2 separate regions of the Homo sapiens genome follow, and region 2 is linked to region 1. Evidence: promoter capture Hi-C in human tissues and cell types (Jung and others, 2019). All regions are on one chromosome and are shown on one strand. The core of a region is centred on a gene start or on the middle of the fragment in contact, and the rest is flanking DNA. Distances in the headings are between cores, read along the strand shown. Region 1 holds the start of LIPE (lipase E, hormone sensitive type). Region 2 overlaps GRIK5 (glutamate ionotropic receptor kainate type subunit 5).

Evidence for each region. Contacts are between HindIII fragments. The study calls those that stand out against the background at their distance.
Region 2: a contact is called between a fragment that was not itself captured here and the fragment with the promoter of LIPE in region 1, in 2 of the 25 tissues and cell types used here (H1 embryonic stem cells and liver).

What each region holds. Positions count from the first base shown.
Region 1 is chr19:42,424,307-42,429,897 of GRCh38, reverse strand. LIPE (lipase E, hormone sensitive type) reads left to right here and starts at 2,510. Exons shown (of 10, transcript NM_005357.4): 1 at 2,510-3,631. The coding sequence starts at 2,749. CXCL17 (C-X-C motif chemokine ligand 17) reads left to right here. Exons shown (of 4, transcript NM_198477.3): 4 at 917-1,620. The coding sequence ends at 1,014. All of the region lies in intron 1 of LIPE-AS1 (LIPE antisense RNA 1), which reads right to left. The HindIII fragment of the contact is 15,228 bases long and covers 1-5,591 here.
Region 2 is chr19:42,012,110-42,017,700 of GRCh38, reverse strand. The region is part of intron 15 of GRIK5 (glutamate ionotropic receptor kainate type subunit 5); the gene reads left to right. Among named protein-coding and RNA genes, the nearest start is that of ATP1A3, 21 kb to the right of the region's middle. The HindIII fragment of the contact is 6,690 bases long and covers 1-5,591 here.

The DNA of each region.
Region 1 (5,591 bases), core at 1,261-3,760:
CTATGCCCGGCCAGATTTCTTAAAGGTGCCGACTAAGGCAATACGTATAGTATAATCTCATTTTTGTTTTTAAAATAAACCATTGTATTTATATACCAGAAGGTATGGAAAAATACGTAGCAAACTATTAACAGTGGTTAGCCCTGGAAAATGTGTTGTAGAGGCTGGGGTGGGAGGAGTCCTTTTACTTTTTACTGGATTTTAAAATTTTTTTCCACTGGATGAGTCTTATTTTTATAATTTTTAAAACTCTCATAAAAATTAAATGTTGGCTGGGCACAGTGGCTCACACCTGTAATCCTAGCATTTTGGGAGGCAAAAGCGGGTGGATCACCTGAGGTCAGGAGTTCAAGACCAGCCTGGCCAACATGGTGAAACCCCATCTCTACTAAAATACAAAAATTAGCCAGGCATGATGGTGGGTGCCTGTAATCCCAGCTACTCGAGAGGCTGAGACAGGAGAATCGCTTGAATCTGGGAGACAGTGGTTGCAGTGAGCCAAGATTGCACCACTGCACTCCAGCCTGGGCAACTGAACGAGACTCCATCTCAAAAAAAAATTAAATGTGAAGGCCAGGCATGGTGGCTCATGCCTGTAATCCTAGCACTTTGGGAGGCCGAGGTGGGTGGATCACATGACGTCAGGAGTTCCAGACCAGCCTGGCCAAAATGGTGAAACCCTGTCTCTACTAAAATACAAAAATTAGCCAGCCATGGTGGCAGGCACCTGTAATCCCAGCTACTTGGGAGGCTGAGGCAGGAGAATCACTTGAACCCGGGAGGCAGAGGTTGCAGTGAGTTGAGATCCTGCCACTGCACTCCAGCCTGGGCAATAGAGCAAGACTCCGTCTCCAAAAAAAAAAGAAATGTTAAAAATGGTTTTAACACTAGCCTCTCCCCTTTATTTGCACCCTAGGACACCAAAGGCACCACAGAAAGCCAAACAAGCATTCCAGAGCCTGCCAGCAATTTCTCAAACAATGTCAGCTAAGAAGCTTTGCTCTGCCTTTGTAGGAGCTCTGAGCGCCCACTCTTCCAATTAAACATTCTCAGCCAAGAAGACAGTGAGCACACCTACCAGACACTCTTCTTCTCCCACCTCACTCTCCCACTGTACCCACCCCTAAATCATTCCAGTGCTCTCAAAAAGCATGTTTTTCAAGATCATTTTGTTTGTTGCTCTCTCTAGTGTCTTCTTCTCTCGTCAGTCTTAGCCTGTGCCCTCCCCTTACCCAGGCTTAGGCTTAATTACCTGAAAGATTCCAGGAAACTGTAGCTTCCTAGCTAGTGTCATTTAACCTTAAATGCAATCAGGAAAGTAGCAAACAGAAGTCAATAAATATTTTTAAATGTCACAGATCAAAATTGTTTCCTTCAAATGGGGTCTGCCAATTCACAACCAGATGACCCATTTTACCCTATTCACTGCAGACTGAATCCAGATTCTACACATACTTATCCCCACCAAGACCCTCACTCTGTCTCCATTGGCCTACTTGTTCATCTTTCACTCATTCGACAAATCTTTCTGAGGTAAGAGCGAGGTGGGACAAAAAAAAAAAAGCATACCAATGAACCAGACACGGTCTTATTAAAGATAATATAGGTTTAAAAAAAAAACTTGGCACAGTTTCTTAGCACTTAGGCAGCCTTTGGTATTTATGACTACTATCATCACCATTACCACCATCATTATCAGTCATTGTCATCAGTGGTCACTGTCTTCTGTGAGTTTCCAATCTAGTACAGGATCATAGTTCAGGGCTAGAGAGATGGCATGGAGTATCTCAAATGCCATTCAGAAGGGCCTCAAGCTATAAAAGTGGGAAGGCATGACATTAGTTTTTAACATGAGAGTTAAATGATCAGAATGACAATATAAGGAAATTAAACTAGCAACCTGGCTGGGCGTGGTGGCTCACACCTGTAAACCCAGCACTTTGGGAGGCCCGGGGGCGGGGGGTGGGGGTGGATCACTTAAGGTCAGGAGTTTGAGACCAGCCTGGCCAACATGGCAAAACCCCATCTCTACTAAAAATATAAAAATTAGCCGGGCGTGGCAGTGCACGCCTGTAGTCCCAGCTACTTGGGAGGCTGAGGCAGGAGAGTCGCTTGAACCCAGGAGGTGGAGGCTTCAGTGAGCCAAAATGGTACCACTGCACTCCAGCCTGGGCAACAGAGAAAGACTTGTCTCAATAAGTAAATAAATAAATAATCTGGCAACCATTTGTAGGAATGAACAAAGAGGGAAATAATTATTACAACAACTACAGAGACTGCCCCCTGAATGACGCTTTCCTCAGACATTAGAAGGAAAGAGAAAAAAGGAACACTCATCCAGCATCTGGCTTCTGTCATCCCAGATGACACGGAGGCCTAAATTGGGATGCTTGCCTTATGAGAAGAAACATTTTAACGGAGTGGTGGGTGGGGTGGGGCCCTATTTATGACACAAGAGAGCAAGCCCCTCCCTTCTTGTAAGAGAGTGCTAGGCACATAGCCTCCTCCTATTCCTAATCCTCCCACCAAAGAAAGAGGCACAGAGTTCATTACTTAGTGGGGGCCAGCTGTGATCGGCCAACTGCCAGCTGCCTTAAAAAGGAAGACCAGTGATGCTAGGATGGAGTGAAACCCAAGAGGAAGTGCCATCATGAGGAATCAATGAGAGATCTGTGAAGAGAGAGGGCTGGGTGGGAGCCCAGAAGGATAGAACCTGGAAGATCAATATCTCCCGTGAGGGAAATAACAATGGAGCCAGGTTCTAAGTCAGTGTCTAGGTCAGACTGGCAACCTGAACCACACCAGAGGCCTATAACCCCGCTAGAGCCTGGGCCAGAAAAGACACCCATAGCCCAGCCAGAATCGAAGACTCTGCAGGGATCCAATACCCAACAGAAGCCTGCTTCAAACCAAAGACCCCTCACCCAGCAGGAGACCCCTGCACAACATGATGCTGAATCCCAGAAGGAACCTAGAGCCCAACAAAAATCTGCTTCACAAGAGGAATTTCTTGCCCCACAGAAGCCCGCACCACAGCAATCACCTTACATCCAAAGGGTGCTGCTCACTCAACAGGAAGCTGCCTCCCAGCAGGGACCTGGGCTAGGAAAAGAATCTATAACTCAACAGGAGCCAGCATTGAGACAAAGACATGTAGCCCAGCCAGGGCCTGGGCCAGGAGAGCCACCTCCAGCTCAACAAGAAGCTGAATCAACACCTGCGGCCCAGGCTAAACCTGGAGCCAAAAGGGAGCCATCTGCCCCGACTGAATCTACGTCCCAAGAGACACCTGAACAGTCAGACAAGCAAACAACGCCAGTCCAGGGAGCCAAATCCAAGCAGGGATCTTTGACAGAGCTGGGATTTCTAACAAAACTTCAGGAACTATCCATACAGCGATCAGCCCTAGAGTGGAAGGCACTTTCTGAGTGGGTCACAGATTCTGAGTCAGAATCAGATGTGGGATCATCTTCAGACACAGATTCTCCAGCCACGATGGGTGGAATGGTGGCCCAGGGAGTGAAGCTAGGCTTCAAAGGAAAATCTGGTTATAAAGTGATGTCAGGATACAGTGGGACGTCGCCACATGAGAAAACCAGTGCTCGGAATCACAGACACTACCAGGATACAGGTGAGTGTGAATCTGGAGGAATTGAAGCCTCTCAGGGACAGTCATTCATTTACTTAAAAAATACTAAAAACTTACGGTGTATCAGGTTAGCTCTGGTCATCCTTCAACAATCCTGAGATAAAGATCAACATCCCCATTATTAAAAAAAAAAAAAAAAAAAAAAAAGGCTGGGCGCAGTGGCTCACACCTGTAATCCCAGCACTTTGGGAGGCCGAGGCAGATGGATTGCTTGAGGCCAGGAGTTCAAGACCAGCCTAGCCAAGATGGTGAAACACCGTCTCTACTAAAAATACAAAAATTAGCCAGGCGTGGTGGCAGGTGCCTGTAATCCCAGCTACTCGGGAGGCTGAGGCAGAGAAACACTTGAACCCGGGAGGCAAAGGTTGCAATGAGCTGAGATCGTGCCACTGCACTCCAGCCTGGGTGACAGAGTAAGACTCCATCTCAAAAAAAGAAAAAAACAAAGTCTCACTCTGTCGCCCAGGCTGGGGTGCACTGGTATGATCATGGCTCACTGCAGCCTCAAACTCCTGGGCTCAAGCGATCCTCATACCTCAGCCTCCGGAGTAGGTGGGACTACAAGTGCACCACCATGCCCCGCTAATTTTTACATTTTCCGTAGAGACGTGGCCTCGCTATGTTGCCCAGGCTGGTCTCGAACTCCTGGCCCCAAGCAAGCCTCCCACCTCAGCTTCCCAAAGTGCTGAGATTACAGGCATGAGCCACCGAGCACCTGGCCAACATCCTCATTTTAGAAATGAGGACATCAGGTAGAAAATAAAGAAGTAAGGGTTCTTGCACAGGGCCATGCAGTTAGGAAGTGGCAAAGTCAGGATTTGAAGCCGGGGTCTTTCTCCCCTGGACCAGGCTGCCTCCCTATAGAGGATTTGGGGAAAATCAAATCCCAGAGTGGGAAGGCACTCTGAGCTAGGGACCAGGAGACCAGGAAAGCGGCCCTCTTGCCAGTGTTCATTCATCCATCCACAGAAACTGACTGAGCACCAGCTCTGGGGTAGACACGGGCGTAAGTCCCAGCAATACAATACAAAGACGGTACCTTACCCTTCTGGAGTTTCCAGGCAGGCTAGGCAGAACATTGGGGCATCAACAGTCTCTCAGTTTACCAGGTCTGTCCTCTTCTGCCAGGAAGATACCTGCTCCCTGCCAGGCTGCCTCCATAGGGGACTCAGTCCAGCCAGGCGGAAGGGCCTTGCGGGTTGTGTTCTCAGCAAGGAGGAGCCGGGAGAGAGGTGCGGGAGCCGCCAAGGTCTCAGGCAAGGTCAGGGACTGACGGCAGGAAAGTTGGGGGAGCAGCATCAGAGGATAACGGGCCCAAGGCTCTGGGCTCACCGCAGGCACTCCCTCGCCTTCTCCGCCTCTTCCCGGGGCCCAGTGCTGCCCCCTGCCTGCTTCACAGGAGCCCCAGGAAGCTCCGATCTTCCTTCTCTAGGCTCAAAACCCCTGCCATGGAGAAGGGGGGAATACAAGTTTTATCTATGGAACTGGAGGTTACTTGTTGAAGTCCCCTGATGTGGGGGGAAAAACCAACGCAGCCCTAATCCTGAAGCTGAGGGTATCTGTGAGGCCCTGGTCCAGAGGGCAGGCAATGGCGGCCCCTCCGCCCAGAGGCCAGTCTGTCTTGTCTCTCCCACAGCTGATAAGAGAGTAACGCGTTTCTCAGCGCCGGGGCTGCTGGGTATGCTTTGAGAGGGAAGGAAGAGGGGCGGCAGGCAAAGGCAGGGATTGAGGCCTGCTCTCCCCAGTGCTGAGGATAGAAAGCTGTTTCTCCAGGCCTCCAGAGCACAGTCTCAAGGGATGCCCGCCCCACACCACCGCGGCGGGCGAGGTTGCCTTTCAGGCGGTCCAGAAGCAGTTGGCTGTGTGCGTGTGAGCAAGGCGGTCCAGAAGCAGTTGGCTGTGTGCGTGTGAGCAAGCCTCGAGCCTCCTCTGTTTCCCGCCA
Region 2 (5,591 bases), core at 1,580-4,079, 410 kb after region 1:
TTACCTCCAGGCAGCATTCGCCCGGTTAGCCACCCTTCTAGAAACTCTCTTCTTGCTTCTAGGCTCTGTGTCCTCCTGGTTTCCTCCAACCTCTCTGGTCCTGTTTCATTTGCTGTGGGTTCCTTTTGCCTTTGCCACCCCTCAAATGGGGCTTCTCACTCACACTAGTGAGTTTTCAGTGCTTGCAGACCCAACACCCTCTTTTTATAACAAATATTTTTTAATACGTCCTTTTCCACACTGAGCTGAAATTCAAGGGTAATATATCTTCCTACACACATAATTTGTAAAAAATCAATTTAACGCCATAATTGCAATATGAAGGGGAAAAAGCAGGGAAGTGACTTCCAATAAAATAATATTATGGCAATACACAAATGCCTGGGTGTGGCTATGCCAGAAGACAGAATGCGACAGTCGGCGCCTGCTTAGAATGAGTAAGTGGCATGATGAGAAGTAAGATCATTTAACAGAATTATGTTGCCACTTGATATCTGACACATCGAAATAGTTGACAAATGAGTATGTTTGTGCAAATACAAGTCACTGTGAACGTGATGATTTGCTAATGCAGCTGGTGCAAGGGTCTTGACTTGGGTCTTGAGTTCGAGTGGAGTTGCTGTCAGAGACAGATGATTTCCCCCAACGGTGAGCAGCTCTCAGCAAAGTTCCAAACAAAACAACATCCAGTCATCCCTCGATTAAAACAAGAGGTGCATTTCTGGAGATTTTGGTTTATATTATAATCATGCAAAAAAAAAAAACTTGGGTTTTTAATGTACCAAGGAGTTAGGCTCAGATAATCACAGAACAGGTATTCCCCATTGTTCAGACCAGGCCTCGAATTATCCGGCTGTCCTACGCTGAGCACCAGTGGCCCACACTTTACCAAACACCTCCCAGGGTGCCCTCCCTGCCAGAGACCACTGTTCCATACACCTTGTCAGGGGCCATCTCACCTGCTGCTGGACTTCCCATGCTATGCGCATACTAACACTTCCGAAGTCATCTCTAGACCCCTCCATGTGTCCAGCCCCCTGGGATTGCTCCTCTTGGGAGCTCAACAGGCATCTCCAAACTCACCTTGTGCAAAACAGAGCTCATGTCTTTACTCCCAAATCTGACTCCCAGTCTGTGTTCCCTCTGCTGCCTTAGTGAGTGGCCCCATCACCACCACCAGTCATCCACACTGTGTCCTCAGGGGCCAGAGGGTGCATGGTGTGTACCAGGCACTGAGTAATTTTTGTTGTTGTTGTTTTGTTTTTATTTTTTTATTTTTGAGATGGAGTTTTGCTCTTGTTGCCCAGGCTAGAGTGCAGTGGCACGATCTCGGCTCACTGCAACCTCCACCTTCCGGGTTCAAGCGATTCTCCTGGCTCAGCCTCCCGAGTAGCTGGGATTACAGGTGCCAGCCACCACGTCTGGCTAATTTTTTGTATTTTTAGTAGAGACGGGGTTTCATCATGTTGGCCAGGCTGGTCTTGAACTCCTGACCTCAGATGATCCACCCACCTCGGCCTTCCAAAGTGCTGGGATACAGGCGTGAGCCACTGTGCCTGGCCAAATAATTTTGTTTTGCATGAATGGCAGCATTGACCTGTAAGATGGGTTTGGAGAGACTTGGTTTCTGGAGAGGTTGAGTCAGTCCCTGGGTCTTTGTGTCTTGGGGTTTTGGTTTTATTTTTCAGGAGGCTGTTTAATTCATGTCTCTCTATCAAGCCCTCACTCCATCCCCATCCCAGTGCCTAGCATAGCTTTGCACATGTGTTCTGTGGAGGACATTGCTGTTTTCATTATTACGTGCTGGGAATGTGAGGGTGGGAGGTCTGGGAGGCCCTTTTCAGCATCTCCTCTGCCTTCAGGCCCCTCAGATCTATATGGTCTACAGGGACCCTGGCCATTCTTACTTGCCAGGAGGGAGGACAGAGGGGGCCACGGTAAGACAAGTGGTTGCTCTGGGGTCCTGCAGCCAGGCTGGTGGGAGCCTATTCTCCCGGGTCGGTCCTGTGTCACCAAGACAATGAGAGAAAACACTTGCATAGCACTTGCTGTGTGCCGGATGAACTCAGTCACTCTTCACAAAACCCAGTGAGGAAGGGCCTACAATTGTACTAACTTCACAGGTGAGGAAACTGCAGCACACTTCCAAGGTCACGCAGCAAGGCATTGATGGAGAAGACAGGATTTGGGGATTTTCCAGAGATCTTTCTATGATTGATTTCTAATTTAGCTCCATCGTGGTCAGAGAACATTCTCTAGAGGACTTTAATCCTTTTAAATTTATTGAGACTTGCTTTAGAGCTCAGCATATGGTCTGTCCTGGTAACTGTTCTATGTGGAGTTGCACTGAATGTGTTTCTGCTGTTGGTGGTGCAGTGTTCTATAAGGGTCCATTGGGGCCAGTAGGTTGATCATGTTATTCAAGTCTTCTCTATCCTTACTGATTTTCTACTTGTTCCATCAATTATTGAGAGGAGTTTTGAAATCTCACCCTGTAATTGCAGGAAATTTATCCGTTTCTCTTCAATTCTATCCATTTTTGCCTCATGCATGTTGAAGCTTTGTAATTAGGCGCACAAATGTTTAGGACTCTTATGTCCTCTAGGTGAATTGACCCATGTCATTATATAATGTCTCTCCTTATTCCTGGTAACATTCTGTGTTCTGAAGTTAACATTTTTTGATACTAATATAGGCACTCTGGCTTTCTGAGGCTTAATGTTTGCATAGCATATCTTTTCCCCATTCTTTTAGTCTCGGCCCATCTAGATTATTATATTTAAAGAGCATTCCTTTTCTTTTCTTTTAAATAGAGATAGGGTCTCACTTTGTTGCCCAGGCAGGTTTCCAACTCCTGGGCTCAAGTGATTCTCCCATCTTGGCCTCCCAAAGTGCTGGGATTACAGCTATGAGCCACCACACCTGACCAAGTGTGTGGTGAGTATTGGGGAGTGCAATGGTGTGATCTCAGCTCACTGCAACCTCCACCTCCTGGGTTCAGGTGGTTCTCCTGCCTCAGCCTCCCAAGCAGCTGGGACTACAGGTTCATGCCACCACACCCAGCTAATTTTTATATTTTTAGTAGAGGCAGGGTTTCACCATGTTGGCAAGGCTGGTCTCAAACTCCTGACCTCAAGTGATCCACCTGCCTCTGCCTCCCAAAGTGCTGGGATTACAGGCATGAGCCACCATGCCCAGCCCCAAGTGTGTTTCTTATAAACAGTGTATACTTAGGCCTTGGAGCAAGGTTTGGCCAATTTTTTCTGCATTGGGCCAGATAGTAAAATTTTTTTTTTTTTGAGATGGAGTTTTGACCTGTTGCCTAGGCTGGAGTGCAGTGGTGCAACAGCACGATCTCAGCTCACTGCAACCTCTGCCTCCCAGGTTCAAGCAATTCTCCTGCCTCAGCCTCCCAAGTAGCTGGGACTACAAGCGCACGCCAGCACGCCTGGCTAATTTTTTGTATTTTAGTAGAGATGGGGTTTCACCATGTTGCCCAGGCTGGTCTTGAACTCTGGAGCTCAGGCAATCCACCCGCCTCAGACTCCCAAAGTGCTGGGATTACAGGTGTGAGCCACCGTGTCTGGCCAGTAATTTTTCTTTTAAATTTTATTTATATGTAATAGTTGTACATATTTTTGGGAGTACAGGTGATTTTTTTTTTTTTTTTTTGAGATGGAGTCTTGTTCTGTCACTCAGACTGGAGTGCAGTAGTGTGATCACAGGTCACTGCAGCCTCAACCTCCCAGGCTCAAGTGATCCTCCCACTTTAGCCTCCTGTGTATCTGGGATCACAGGTGTGCGACGCCACACCCGGCTAAATTTTTTTATTTTTGGTAGAGACGAAGTCTCACTGTGTTGCCCAGGCTGGTCTCAAACTCTTGGGCTCAAGCAGTCCTCCCACCTCAGCATCCTGAAATGCTGGGATCAGGGTAATTGGGAAATCCATCACCTCAAACATTTATGTTTTCTCTAAGTAAAGATGCTTTTAGGCCGGGCGCGGTGGCTCACGCCTGTAAGCCCAGCACTTTGGGAGGCCGAGGTGGGCGGATCACGAGGTCAGAGGATCGAGACCGTCCTGGCTAACATGGTGAAACCCTGTCTCTACTAAAAGATACAAAAAATTAGCCGGGTGCGGTGGCGGGTGCCTGTAGTCCCAGCTACTCCGGAGGCTGAGGCAGGAGAATGGCGCGAACCTGGGAGGCGGAGCTTGCAGTGAGCCGAGATCGCCCCACTGCATTCCAGCCTGGGCGACAGAGCAAGACTCCATCTCAAAAAAAAAAAAAAAAAAAGAAAAGAAAAAAAGAAAAAAAAAGATGTTTTTAAATATTTATCTTTATTTTTATTTTTTTAAAGACAGGATCTTGCTCTGTCTCTAGGCTGGAGTGCTGTGTGTTTATAGCTCCCTACAGCCTCAAACTCCTGGGCTCAAGGGATCTTCCTGCCTCCGCCTACTGAGTAGCTAGGACTACGTGCCTGGCTAATTTTTTATTATTTTCATTTTTTTTTTTTTGTAGAGAGTTCTTACTTTGTTGCCCAGGCTGGTCTTGAACTCCTGGCCTCAAGCGATCTTCCTGCCTCAGCCTCCCAAAGTGCCGCGATTACAGGCATGAGCCACTGCTCTGGCCCTAAGTAAATATTTTGTACTTTGTTGATCATATGGTCTTTGTTCCAGCTACTCAATCTTCCATTGTAGTATAGAAGCTGTTGTAGATGATACATTAAATGAATGAGTGTGGCTGTGTTCCAATAAAACTTTATTTATGGATACTGACACTGAAATTTGAATTTTATATAAGTCATGTGTCATAAAATATTCCTTTTTTTTTTTTTTGAGGCAATATCTCACTCTGTTGCCCAGGCTGGAGTACAGTGGTACAATCTTGGCTCACTGCAGCCTCAACCTCCCAGGCTTAAGGAATCCTCCCACCTCAGCCTCTTGAGTAGCTGGAACCACAGGCACGTGCCACCCAGTCTGGCTAACTTTTTGTAGAGATAGGGTTTCGCCATGTTGCCCAGGCTAGTCTCAATTCCTGGGCTCAAGCGATCCACCCACCTTGGCCTCCCAAAGTGCTCGGATTATAGGTGTGAACCACTGCGCCCAGCCTGTTCTTCTGATTTCATTTTAACCATTTAAAAATGTGAAAACTGGCCGGGCGTGGTGGCTCATGCCTGTAATCCTAGCACTTTGGGAGGCCGATGCGGGCGGATTGCCTGAGCTCAGGGGTTCTAGACCTACCTGGGCAACAAGGTGAAACCCCATCTCTACTAAAATACAAAAAATTAGCCAGGCGTGGCAGTGTGCGCCTGTAGTTCCAGCTACTCGGGAGGCTGAGGCAGGAGAATTGCTTGAACCTGGGAGGCAGAGGTTGCAGTAAGCTGAGATCGTGCCACTGCACTCCAACCTGGGCAACAGAGAGAGACTCTGTCTCCAAATAAATAAATACATACATACATACATACATACATACATACACATACATGTATATATACATATACATATATGTATATGTAAAAGCCATTCTTAGCTTATGGGGCTGTACAAAAATAGACAGCAGGTCAGATTTGGCCTGTGGGCCATAGTTAGCCAG